Linked DNA regions of Homo sapiens: region 2 is linked to region 1. Evidence: promoter capture Hi-C in 16 types of primary human blood cells and fetal thymus (Javierre and others, 2016). All regions are on one chromosome and are shown on one strand. The core of a region is centred on a gene start or on the middle of the fragment in contact, and the rest is flanking DNA. Distances in the headings are between cores, read along the strand shown.

Evidence for each region. The method cuts DNA at HindIII sites, captures the fragments that hold promoters and counts their contacts. A CHiCAGO score of 5 or more calls a contact.
Region 2: a contact is called between a fragment that was not itself captured here and the fragment with the promoter of CD1A in region 1, in 1 of 17 cell types (fetal thymus). The highest score is 5.4, in fetal thymus.

What each region holds. Positions count from the first base shown.
Region 1 is chr1:158,251,190-158,256,806 of GRCh38, reverse strand. CD1A (CD1a molecule) reads right to left here and starts at 2,383. Exons shown (of 6, transcript NM_001763.3): 1 at 2,080-2,383; 2 at 1,457-1,723; 3 at 525-803; 4 at 1-21. The coding sequence starts at 2,137. The HindIII fragment of the contact is 5,152 bases long and covers 745-5,617 here.
Region 2 is chr1:158,530,027-158,535,643 of GRCh38, reverse strand. No RefSeq gene overlaps it. Among named protein-coding and RNA genes, the nearest start is that of OR6Y1, 22 kb to the left of the region's middle. The HindIII fragment of the contact is 7,233 bases long and covers 1-5,617 here.

The DNA of each region.
Region 1 (5,617 bases), core at 1,134-3,633:
ACAGCCAGGCCTCGGGCTTCACTGCAAAGGACAGAAAAGATATTCAAATACAGACTTGGAGTTTCATATCTCCACAACAGTTTAGAAGTTTAGATAGACACATTGTTCCCATTTCTCTTTTTTTTTTTTTTGAGACAGGGTCTCACTCTGTCACTATGCTGCAATGCAGTGGCATAATTATAAATTATAGCTCACTGTAACCTCAAACTGTTAGGCTCAAGCGATCCTCCTGCCTCAGCCTCTTAAGTAACTGGGACTACAGGTGTGTACCACCATGACTGGCTAACTTATTTTTATTTTTTAGAGACACTGGTCTCACTCTGTTGCTCAGGCTGGTCTGGGACTCCTGCCCTTAAGAAGTCCTCCAGCCTCAGCTTCCCAAAGTACTGGGATTACAGATGTGAGGCACTGCACCCAGCCTTTCCCACTTCTGGGTGGCTCTTCCTTATTCTAAATTGGAAGGAGGTGGTGGAAGGGTATGATTTTCAAATCAAAACTTCTTGGAGGGAGAGTGCAGGACTGACCTTGCCGCTGGAGATGTGCCTTTCCTGCATCAAGAAGACCCAAGATGAAACGTGGGCAGGTGTCACTGAGAAGATTGTGTGTTATGTCATTTTCATGCTGATTCTGATTGAGCACTTTGCAGAAATGCTTGGCCATATTCCCAGCCACTGGATATGGCAACCATGAATTGTTCTGGAAGCTCACAAAGTCTGATCCTTGATAAGCTAACTGCAAGAAGCTTCCTGAGACCTTTCCAGAGTGCAGCTCACAGCCTCCTGTCACCTGTATCTCAAAAGGATCTGGGGTTATGAAATAGAGGAAAGAGGGAGAAAAAAATATAAAATGAAATGAGTAGAAGCAAAGATTATAGAAGCAGAAGGGGGAAGTGTGCAGGGTTTGACATAATGGAATAAAATTTGGTTTGGTCAGGGATTCAGAGAAAGAGGAATTGGTGGGAGCTGTAGGTGGAGGAAAAGATTAATAACATGAGGAAGAGGGCAAACTGGTCAAAGAAGGTGATGTGAATGCTGTGGGTGAGCAAGGACCTGGTGTAAGAGAACTGGGATTATAACAACTTAGGTTGAATTAAATGCAATGGGTTACAATTGAGTATATATAGAGAGACTGCTGAAGAGAATGAATGAGAAAGTGAGAAAGCTGAAGGTATCTGGTTGTAGGGCAGGCAGAAGGGTGGTCCTGGGATACCTGTAAGAAAAGATAATAATGCACAACCCTGCAATCAATGAGAGAGGAGTTCATAAGTAGCAGAAGTGTTTGGAGAATTAAGGTCTGGATGATAGCCCTTGCCCAAAAGTATGCAATTGCAGTTTTATGGTGGAAAGAATAGAATAAGATACAGAAGAGAGTCAGGCTGTTTCCTAAAGGAATAAGAAACATTGAGACAACCCCTCTCTCCCACCTCACCACTCTCCATGGAGAAAACTGAACTCACATTCAAACTGCAATTCATGGGCGTATCTACGAATTCCCTCAAATGACCGAATGGTGCGTATACGGAATAATGTTTCCAGTTCCTTCCACTCCTCATTGCTGAAGTTTCCCCTGGACCAGGGGCACAGGAAAACGATGGTGCTGGAATTGCTGTCCCAGGTATGAGTCTGCAAATCACTCAGCCAACCTGAGACCAGATTTTGTTTCCAGGAATGGTTGTAAAAGGATGCGATCCAGGTGACATGGAAGGAGAGAGGCTCCTTGAGCCCTGCGACAAAAGAACAGATAGAATGGGGAGAAAGACATTGAGAAAGAGGATGGAGAGAGAAAGGTGCCAGAGTGCGGGAACTCAGAATCTGGAGAAAAGGGGATCCATCATGATCTTAGCAGACATTCACTTGCCACACAGTCCCATGCCTTATCAACCACCTTCATAAGAGCTCAGGGACCTGGAGTCATGGATAGTCAGAATGGAACCAGCCTGGCACTCTCACTTTCCAGGTATATGCTAGGGAAACCACACACACACACACACACACACACACACACACACACACACACACACAGAGAGAGAGAGAGAGACCTTCACCCACCACCCAACTGGGCAGTTGTCAGAGTTCTTACCGTCTGCATTGCCATCACCTGGGAGAACAGCTAACAATGGAAGTAGCAAAAACAGCATATCATTTGCAGATGTTATTTCCTTCTCTCAGAAAAATTGGTCTTTGATTTCTGTTCCAAACAAACCTACCCCACGATATCTCTATTCTGACTTCTTTCTGCAGCCAACAGACAAACCTCCCCTGACTGCAACAAAGAAAATCCACTCCTTCAAAAACCCTGAGATGCCTACTCAGTCTCTCATTTCCCTCTGGTTCTGACTCTCCTCTCTGTTCCAGCTTCTCTCCTTGTCACCAACCTCCAACTTATTCACCTTCCCCTAATTCAACTGCTATGGAACAAGTCTGATGTGGCATTGAAAAGCCACTTAACCACTAAGGACATTTTTTTCTCAATCATACAATAAGAGCATAAAGTGAAATGGCTCCCAGTGTGCTGCCCAATGCTCCCATGTCCCTGCTCTTTTTGATCACTCTGTCCTTTTCAATATTTTCCCATGTATTCTCTTCCCCTGTCTCTTCAGCCCCTTACTACATTCACATTTCTGATTTAACATTGATTTATTTGCTTTTTCAGAGTCTCCTACGACTGCCCTGTGCGACAGTACAAACTAACACCTTTTCTCCATTATTCTTAGAGAAGAGCCAGTAACCATCACAAAAAAAAAAAAAAAAAAAAAAAAAAAAAAAAAAAAAAAAACCACAGGAACACTAAAACATATAAAGAAAATTTCCTCTGTTTGATTTTCATTGATATACATTCACTCACCCAACAGTCTCTCTTAGCACCTGCCTGGAGTCAAGCATCTTGGTACACTTAAGAATATGCAGTGGTTGACAACACAATCACTTTACTGAAGGAGCTTTTTCTCTACTTAGGGAGAAAAACACGCCATGAAATATAAATCTTGGTGTACTGAGTTTTATTATACTGTATACACTCTCTGGATAAAAACAAGGCCTGCTTGAAATAATATTTTCTAAAATGGGGGCTCCTAACTAATGTACGCCAGCCCAGAATTTTGACTTCAATGTTTGACTTGGAGTGTTAGTTCCATACAGTTATCATACTGTATCCCCACCTAACAGAGTATCTCACAAGTGGTAGGTGCTTAGTGAATATTTGTCAAATGAATGAATGAATTCAGTCTATGCATCCATTTTTTAATTATGGAGGTGATATTCAACATGAAACTTTTTAAAGATATCATAAAAGTTACTTGTAACCCTATGTAGTGAGATGAGAATCTCATACAGTTTTATTTAGGATAAAAGTACAAGTTACTGGCATGAGATTTACATAAAAGATCCTGCTATAAATGTCCTATTACTTATAAGAAACTAGTCAGAACTTGTGAGCAGTGAAGTTAATGGAGTATTCCAAAGTCTTTATCCCAGGATCCCTTTTTATTAGTCCTATTTGGATGTTTCAGGGTTGTTTTGTTATAAATGAGTCTTTGCCGGACACATTTACATTCCTCTTTTACGCTGCTTGTAACTGTTGAAGGGCTTCTAAATATATGTTTGTGCTTTGTAGATATCATCCATATAAATGTGTCTGGGCTATTTACTATTTTTTGGTTTTCAAAAAAAAAGTATCTGAAGCTAATTTAGGGGGAAAAAATTTTTTTTCTTGAGACAGGGTTTCACTCTGTTACTCAGGCTGGAGTGCAGTGGAATAATCATAGCTCACTGTAACCTCCAACTCCCGGCCTCAAGCAATCCTCCTGTGTCAGCCTCCCAAAGTGCTGGGATTGTTGGCATGAGCCACCAGGCATGGCCTGCAAATAATTTTTTTATTTGTTTTTTGTTTTGTTTTGTTTTGTTTTGTTTTGAGACAGAGTCTCACTCTGTCACCCAGGCTGGAGTTCAGTGGCATGATCTCAGCTCACTGCAACCTCTGCCTCCCAGGTTAAAGCAATTGTCCTGCCTCGGTTTTGCAAGTAACTGGGATTACAGGTATGCACCACCATGCCTGGCTAACTTTGATATTATTAATAGAGATGGGGTTTCACCATGTTGGTCTCAAACTCCTGACCTCAGATGATCCACCTGCCTCAGCCTCCCAAAGTGCTGGGATTACAGATAATTTTTTTAAAGTTAAGATTAGCATGCAAAAAGCTGGAAAGAGCTTCATTTTCATACTTATAATTTTTTGAAGCCAGATTATCAAAATCATAACTTGAATTTATCAAAGAACTGAAATATCAAGGCAACCAGTTAACCCAAAATATAAAGAAAGACAGACTCCTCAAAGGACAGATGGAATGCAAACCCTTGTTTACTTGGGACAGATGCCAGATATTATACAAGCCAGTAAGAATAAGAATTCAGCTAAAATTTTAGACAAATTAGTAAAGGCTAGCATGAGTATATAGAAGCCCTGGGAGTCACAAAAACAGGGAAATTCGCATCAGTCTCTAAGCCTTTTTCTATGAACCTCACCAGGGTCTTCTGAAACATTAGGGTCAGAGATGTAGACCAGATAAATCCTCTCTCATGATGCGGGCCTGAGGTATGAGAACAGCTACTGCATGGGAAGGGTAGTAAGTCCCAACCAGACCCATCTCCTCTATTGCAACATAGAAAAAAAAAAAAACCGTGGCCGGGTGCGGTGGCTCACACCTGTAATCTCAGCACTTTGGGAGGCCAACGTGGGCGGATCACAAGGTCAGGAGTTCGAGACCAACCTGGCCAACATGGTGCAACCCCATCTGTAGTAATAATACAAAAATTAGCCAGTTGTGGTGGTGCACACCTGTAGTCTCAGCTACTTGAACCCGGGAGGCGGAGGTTGCAGTGAGCCGAGATCGCGCCACTGCACTCCAGCCTGGGTGACAGAGCAATATTCCATCTAAAAGAAAAAAAAAAGCCCTAACCTGGTGGGGAAAGGGCAGAAAGCCCTGCTGCCCTCAGGGCATATGTGAAAACCCACTGCAGCTGAGGAGAAGAAAAACAATGGGAAAGAACGAGAAAACATCCTGGTTCCAGACTATTAGAGGTCCCAAACTGCTGGAAGAAAGGCAGGAACACTTACATGACAAAACTTCAAAAAATTCAAAAACAACTGACCTGCCTAAGAATGAGACTGCACCAGAACAAAAGACAGTGCTCTTACTCCTTCTCCCAAGCAGTATCATAAATATCAATTACAAGACGAGTCTGCAGCTAGAAGAATGGAAAGCATGGAGGTAGGTCCTCTAGAGATATTTCACAAAGGAAACACCAAAACCTGAGAGTGGAGACATTAACAAAACCTTCTGGCAAACCAGCCCCACCCTAGGAACAGAGCAATGTAGAGGAACTTGAAGACTATTGCAGCAACAGCAAAACAGCAAACCCAGTTAGCTCCAGACTAGATTGACTCAAACCCTCACACTGCAGTTCACTCTTGAATAACATGGGTTTCAACTGTGTGCATTTACTCACACGTGGATTTTCTTCTGACTCTGCCACCACTAAGACAAGGCAACTCCTCTTCCTCCTCCTCTTCTGCCTACTGTACATGAAGACAATGAAGACGAACATGTGATGATCCACTT
Region 2 (5,617 bases), core at 2,338-4,837, 280 kb before region 1:
AGAAATTACTTTTCACTTCTTTCTCATTGATATTACAATACCTTTTTAAAAATATGTTTTTAGGGTAATTCCATTCAATGAAATTCACCTTTTTAAGGGTACTGTTCAACGAATTTTGAAAATGGGTATATTCTTCAGCAAAAACAATTAATATGAATGTTTTTGTTCATTAGGACATTTTCATCAACCCATAAAGTGTCTTCATGCCCCTTAACATCAAATCTCCTACCCATCCCCCTACCCTTAGTCACCAGCAATTAATATTCTTTCTGCTCCTTTAGCTTTGCCTTGTATACCAGTTCACATAAATGGAATCATCCAATATGTAGTCTTATGTGTCAGGCTACTTTCCCTTACCATAATGTCTTTGAGACTATCTTCCACTTTGTTTCACGCATCAGTTACATGGAATTACTGAGTGACATTCCATCATATGGATGTAACACAATTGTTTTTCTATTCATCAGTTAATAGAAATCTGGGTGATTTTTAGTTTGGACTGTTGGGGATCAGCCTCACCACCCGTAGGGTATCCGAAGTTTGGTGAGGACGAAGGAATGAGAAGAGACAGGTTGAGAATACAAAAAGAGTGGGGCGCCAGGGGTTCAATGCACTTTTGGAGGCTGCAAAGGCGCCAAGCTCTAGTCTCCACACAATATATTTATTGAGTACAATCACTTAGATCTAAGAAGCAGATGTTTAGGGGTGAAACGGTGAAAGGGAGACGGTGTGTCATACACCTAATCTATAGCAGTGGTGGTTTAGGTAAATTTTTTTTTGTGCTGAAGCAACATAAACTTAACTACTGATTTATTCTTTAACTTACCGGAGAGCAGCTGTGAGGAGTGGGCTTAACTAGGAGCCGGCATATCTGGCCACACTCCAATGCTTCAAAGGAGTGTCTCTCCTTGAGCACAGTGTTTATAGATAAGAGAGCAGGTCACGCTCTGGTCAAGGGAATGTGACGGCAATAAGGAGGCTTTCCTCCTCAGAGGCCTCCTGTGGCTTTCCGCAACTTATTGTCCCATATTTTTATGGCCAGTTTATACAGCCACCCCATAAGCCTTTTTCCCAACATTGGACTATTAGTAATAAAGCTGCTATGAATGTTCAAGTTTTCTTGTGAACACAGACTTTTGTTTCTCTTTAGGAGATGAGGGTTGGGTTGGGGAGATTATAAGTGGAAAATATGAAATTTTATGCTTAAGTTTTGCAAAATTGGAAAACTTTCCTAAGTGGCTGAATGATTTTACATTCCAACAAACAATCTGTGAGAATTTCCATTGATCTATAACTTCACAAATTATTAATAATGTCAGTCTTTTGATGTGATAATTTTAGAGGGCATATAGTGGTATCTTGTTGATTTTAACTTGCATTTCCCTAAGGACTATTGAGGTTTAACATCTTTTTATTTATTTTCAATTTGTAAAACTTCTTTGTTGAGATCTAATCAAATATTTTGCCCATTTTTAAATTGGATTTATTTCTTTTTAAGTATTTGAATTATTCTTGCATTACAATGAAAGTATTTGTCAGTTATATGTTTTGCTAATTTTTTTGACTTAGTAGTCTTTATCTGTTTCCTTAAAAGGCCTTTTGAAGAGCAAATGTTTTTAATTTTCTTAAAGTATAATGTATTGAATTCGTCTTTTAACATCTGTGATTAAAAGATCTTTGTCTAAGGTCACAAAAATTTTCTCCTAAGATTCTTCTAGACTTATACCATCCTTATAGGTTATGTATAAGTTGGTCTTAGTTTTTAATCCAATCTGACAACATCTTCTCTTAAACTATTTTTTTCTTTTTACCGCCTTCTTAAAAGCATTAATTAAGTATTCTTTTAATGTTTCCACTTACCTCACTTTTGGCTTACTAATGTTTGTTTAGGGCAACTTTCTGGGATAATGGAAATATTCCATGTCTGTTCAATCCAATACAATGTCAACAACATGTGACTATTAATTAAACATTAAAATGTAGGTAATATAAACAGGGTACTGAACTTTTACATTTATTGAATCATAATTAATTTGAAAGTAAATACATATAGCTAAAGATTACTTCATTAGCTAACATAGATCTAGATATGATGTATAATATATAACTGTCACCATTCATATATTATATAATTTAATATATAATGAAAATCCTTATTACCTATTATTTATACTATTATTGCTACATATTTTACTTCAACTATTCTAAACATACAATTCTTTATTATTATTTTTGCTTTAAGCCATCAATTATCTTTCAAAGGTTTTTTAAATGAAAGAAAATGAATTTTATATTTACACTTCTATCTAGCATGTTATTTTCTCATCATATTTTTGTGTAGATGCAAATTTTCATCTGATAACTTTTTATATACCTGAAGCTATATATAGTATTTACTGGTGGTAAAAGTATGCTAGTGATACATTTTCCCAGCTTTGGACAGTCTGAACAAGAGTTTATTTCATCTCAATTTTTGAAGATATTTCTCCTGGCTAAAGAACTCCAAATTGATAGTTTTTGATGCAAAACCAATGTAACCAAAGACAGTGTAGTGATTTCCTCAAAGACCTAAAAACAGAAATACCATTTGACCCAGCAATCCCATTACTGGATATATACCCAAAGGAATACAAATCATTCTATTATAAAGACACATGCATGCATATGTTCATTGCAGCATTATTCACAATAGCAAACACATGAAATTAACCTAAATGTCCATCAGTGGTAAACTGGATAAAGAAAATGTGGTACATATACACTGTGGAATTCTATGCAGCTATAAAAAAATGAGATCGTATTCTTTGCAGAAACATTGATGGAGCTGGAGGCCATCACCTTTAGCAAACTAATTCAGGAACAGAAAACCAAATCCCACATGTTCTCACTTACAAGTGGGAGCTAAATGATGAGAACACATGGACACACAGAGGGGACCAACACACACTGGGTCCTATTGAAGGGTGCAGAAGGGGAAGAGGGAGAGGATCAGGAAAAATAACTAATGGGTACTATGCTTAATACCTGGGTGAAAAAATAATCTGTACAACAAATCACCGTGACACAAGTTTACTTATATTACAAGCCTACACCTGCACATGTGCTCCAGAACTTAAAATAAACGGTTTTTTTTAAAAAACTACTCTAATATTCATATGAAACTAAAAAAAAACCTGAGTAGACAAAACAATCCTAAACAAAAATAACAAAGCCAGAAGCCTCACATTACCAGACTTCAATTTATGCAACAAGGCTACAGTAACCAAAACAGCACGATTCTGATACAAAAACACAGCCTCACAGAACATAACAGATAACCCAGAAATAAAGCCACATATCTACAACCATCTCTTTTTTGACAAAGTTGACAAAAATAAACAATAGGGAAAGAACTCCCTATTCAATAAATGGTGCTGGGACAAATGGATAGCCATATGAAGAAGAAAAAAACTGGACCTCGATTTATTACAATAAACACATATTAACTCAAGATGGGTTAAGGACTTACATGTGAGACCTCAAACTATAAAAATCCTAGGAGAAAACCTAGGAAATACCATTCTGGACATTAGCCGTGGCAAAGAATTTATGACTATGTCTCCCAAATTAATTGCAACAAACACAAAAATTGAAAAGTGGGTACTGATTAAACTAAAGAACTTTTGCACAGCAACAGAAATTATCAACAGAGTAAATAAGCAACCTACAGAATGGTAGAAAAGATTTTCAAATTATGCATCTGACAAAGGTCTAATATCCAAAATCTACAACAAACTTAAACAATTAAAGGAGCAAAAAACAACCTCACTAAAAGGTCAAAAAGGACATAAACAGACACTTTTCAAAAGAAGACATACATATGGCCAACAAGCATATGAAAAAATGCTCAATATCTCTAAACATCAGAGAAAGCCAAATCAAAACCACAATGAGATACCATCTCACACCAGTTGAAATGGCTATTATTAAAAAGTTTAAAAAATAATGAATGCCAGCAAGATTGAGAAGAAAAGGGAATGCTTATACACTGCTGGGGGGAATGTCAATTAGTTCAGCCATTGTGGAAACCAGTGTAGAGGTTTCCTTTTTTTTTTTTTTTTTAGAGACGGAGTTTCACTCTTGTTGGCCAGGCTGGAGTGCAATGGCATGATCTTGTCTCACCAAAACCTCCGCCTCCCAGGATCAAGTGATTCTCCTGCCTCAGCCTCCCAAGTAGCTGGGATTACAGACATGTGCCACCAAGCCCAGCTAATTTTGTATTTTTAGTAGAGATGGGGTTTCTCCATGTTGGTTAGGCTGGTCTCGAACTCCCGACCTCAGGTGATCCACCCGTCTCGGCCTCCCAAAGTGCTGGAATTACAGGCGTGAGCCACTGCGCCCGGCCTGAGATTTCTTAAGGAAACTACAACTACCATTCAACCCAGCAGTTCTATCATTGGGTATATCCTCTGAGAAATGTAAATTGTTTTGTAGCCTGAAACTTTATTGACATTTTTAATCAGTTCCAGAGTCTTTAGGCAGAAGCTATAGAGTTTATATCCTAGATATAGAATCATATCCTCTGCAGGATGTTTGACTTACTCTCTCTTTTTTTTTTTTTTTGGATGCCTTTTATTTCTTTCTCTTGCCTAATTAGTATGACCAGGACTTCCAGTACTGTATTGAATACAAGTGGTGAGAGAGGGTATCTTTGTCTTGTTCTGATTTTCAGGGAGTATGCTTTCAGCTTTTGCCCATTCAGTATGATGTTGGCCATGGGATTGTCATAGATGGCTCTTACTATTTTAAGGTATGTTCGTTTGATGCCTAGCTTGTAGAGGGTTTTTATCATGAAGGGACATGGTATAATTTTGTATGCTTTTTCTGCATCAATTGAGATTGTCATATGGTTTTTGTCTTTAATCCTGCTTATGTGGTAAATAACATTTATTAATTTACATATGTTGAACTAAACTTGCATTCCAGGAATAAAACCTATGTGATCATGGTGAATTAAATTTTTGATATGCTGCTGAATTTGCTTTGCTGGTATTTTCTTGAGGATTATTACATTTGTGTTCATCAGGGATATTGGTCTGCAGTTTTCTTATTTTGTTGTGTATTTGCCAGGCTTTGGTATGAGTATGTTGCTTGCTTAATAGAATGAGTCGGAATAAAGTCCCTCCTCCTCAATTTTTTGGAATATTTTCAGTAGCATTGGTACCAGCTTCTCTTTGTATGTCTATTAGAATTCTGCTGTGATTCTATCTGGTCTAGGGCTTTTGTTGGTGGTGGTGGTGATGGTGGTGGTTGCTGGCTTTTCATGAGCAATTCAATTTCAGAACTTGATATTGGTCTGGTCAGGGTTTCAACTTCCTTGTGATTCAATCTTGGGAGGTGGTGTGCTTCCAGTTGTTTATCCATTCCCTCTAGATTTTCCAGTTTGTGTGCATAGAGGTGTTCATAAAAGTCTCTGAGGATCTTTTGTATTTTTGTGGGATTGATTGTAATGTCATCTTTGCCATTTTTGAGCGTGATTATTTGGATCTTCTCTCTTTGCCAATCAAGCTAGTGGTTTATTGATCTCGTTTATTCTCTCAAGTAATCAGCTTTTGGATTTATTGATCCTTTTAATGGA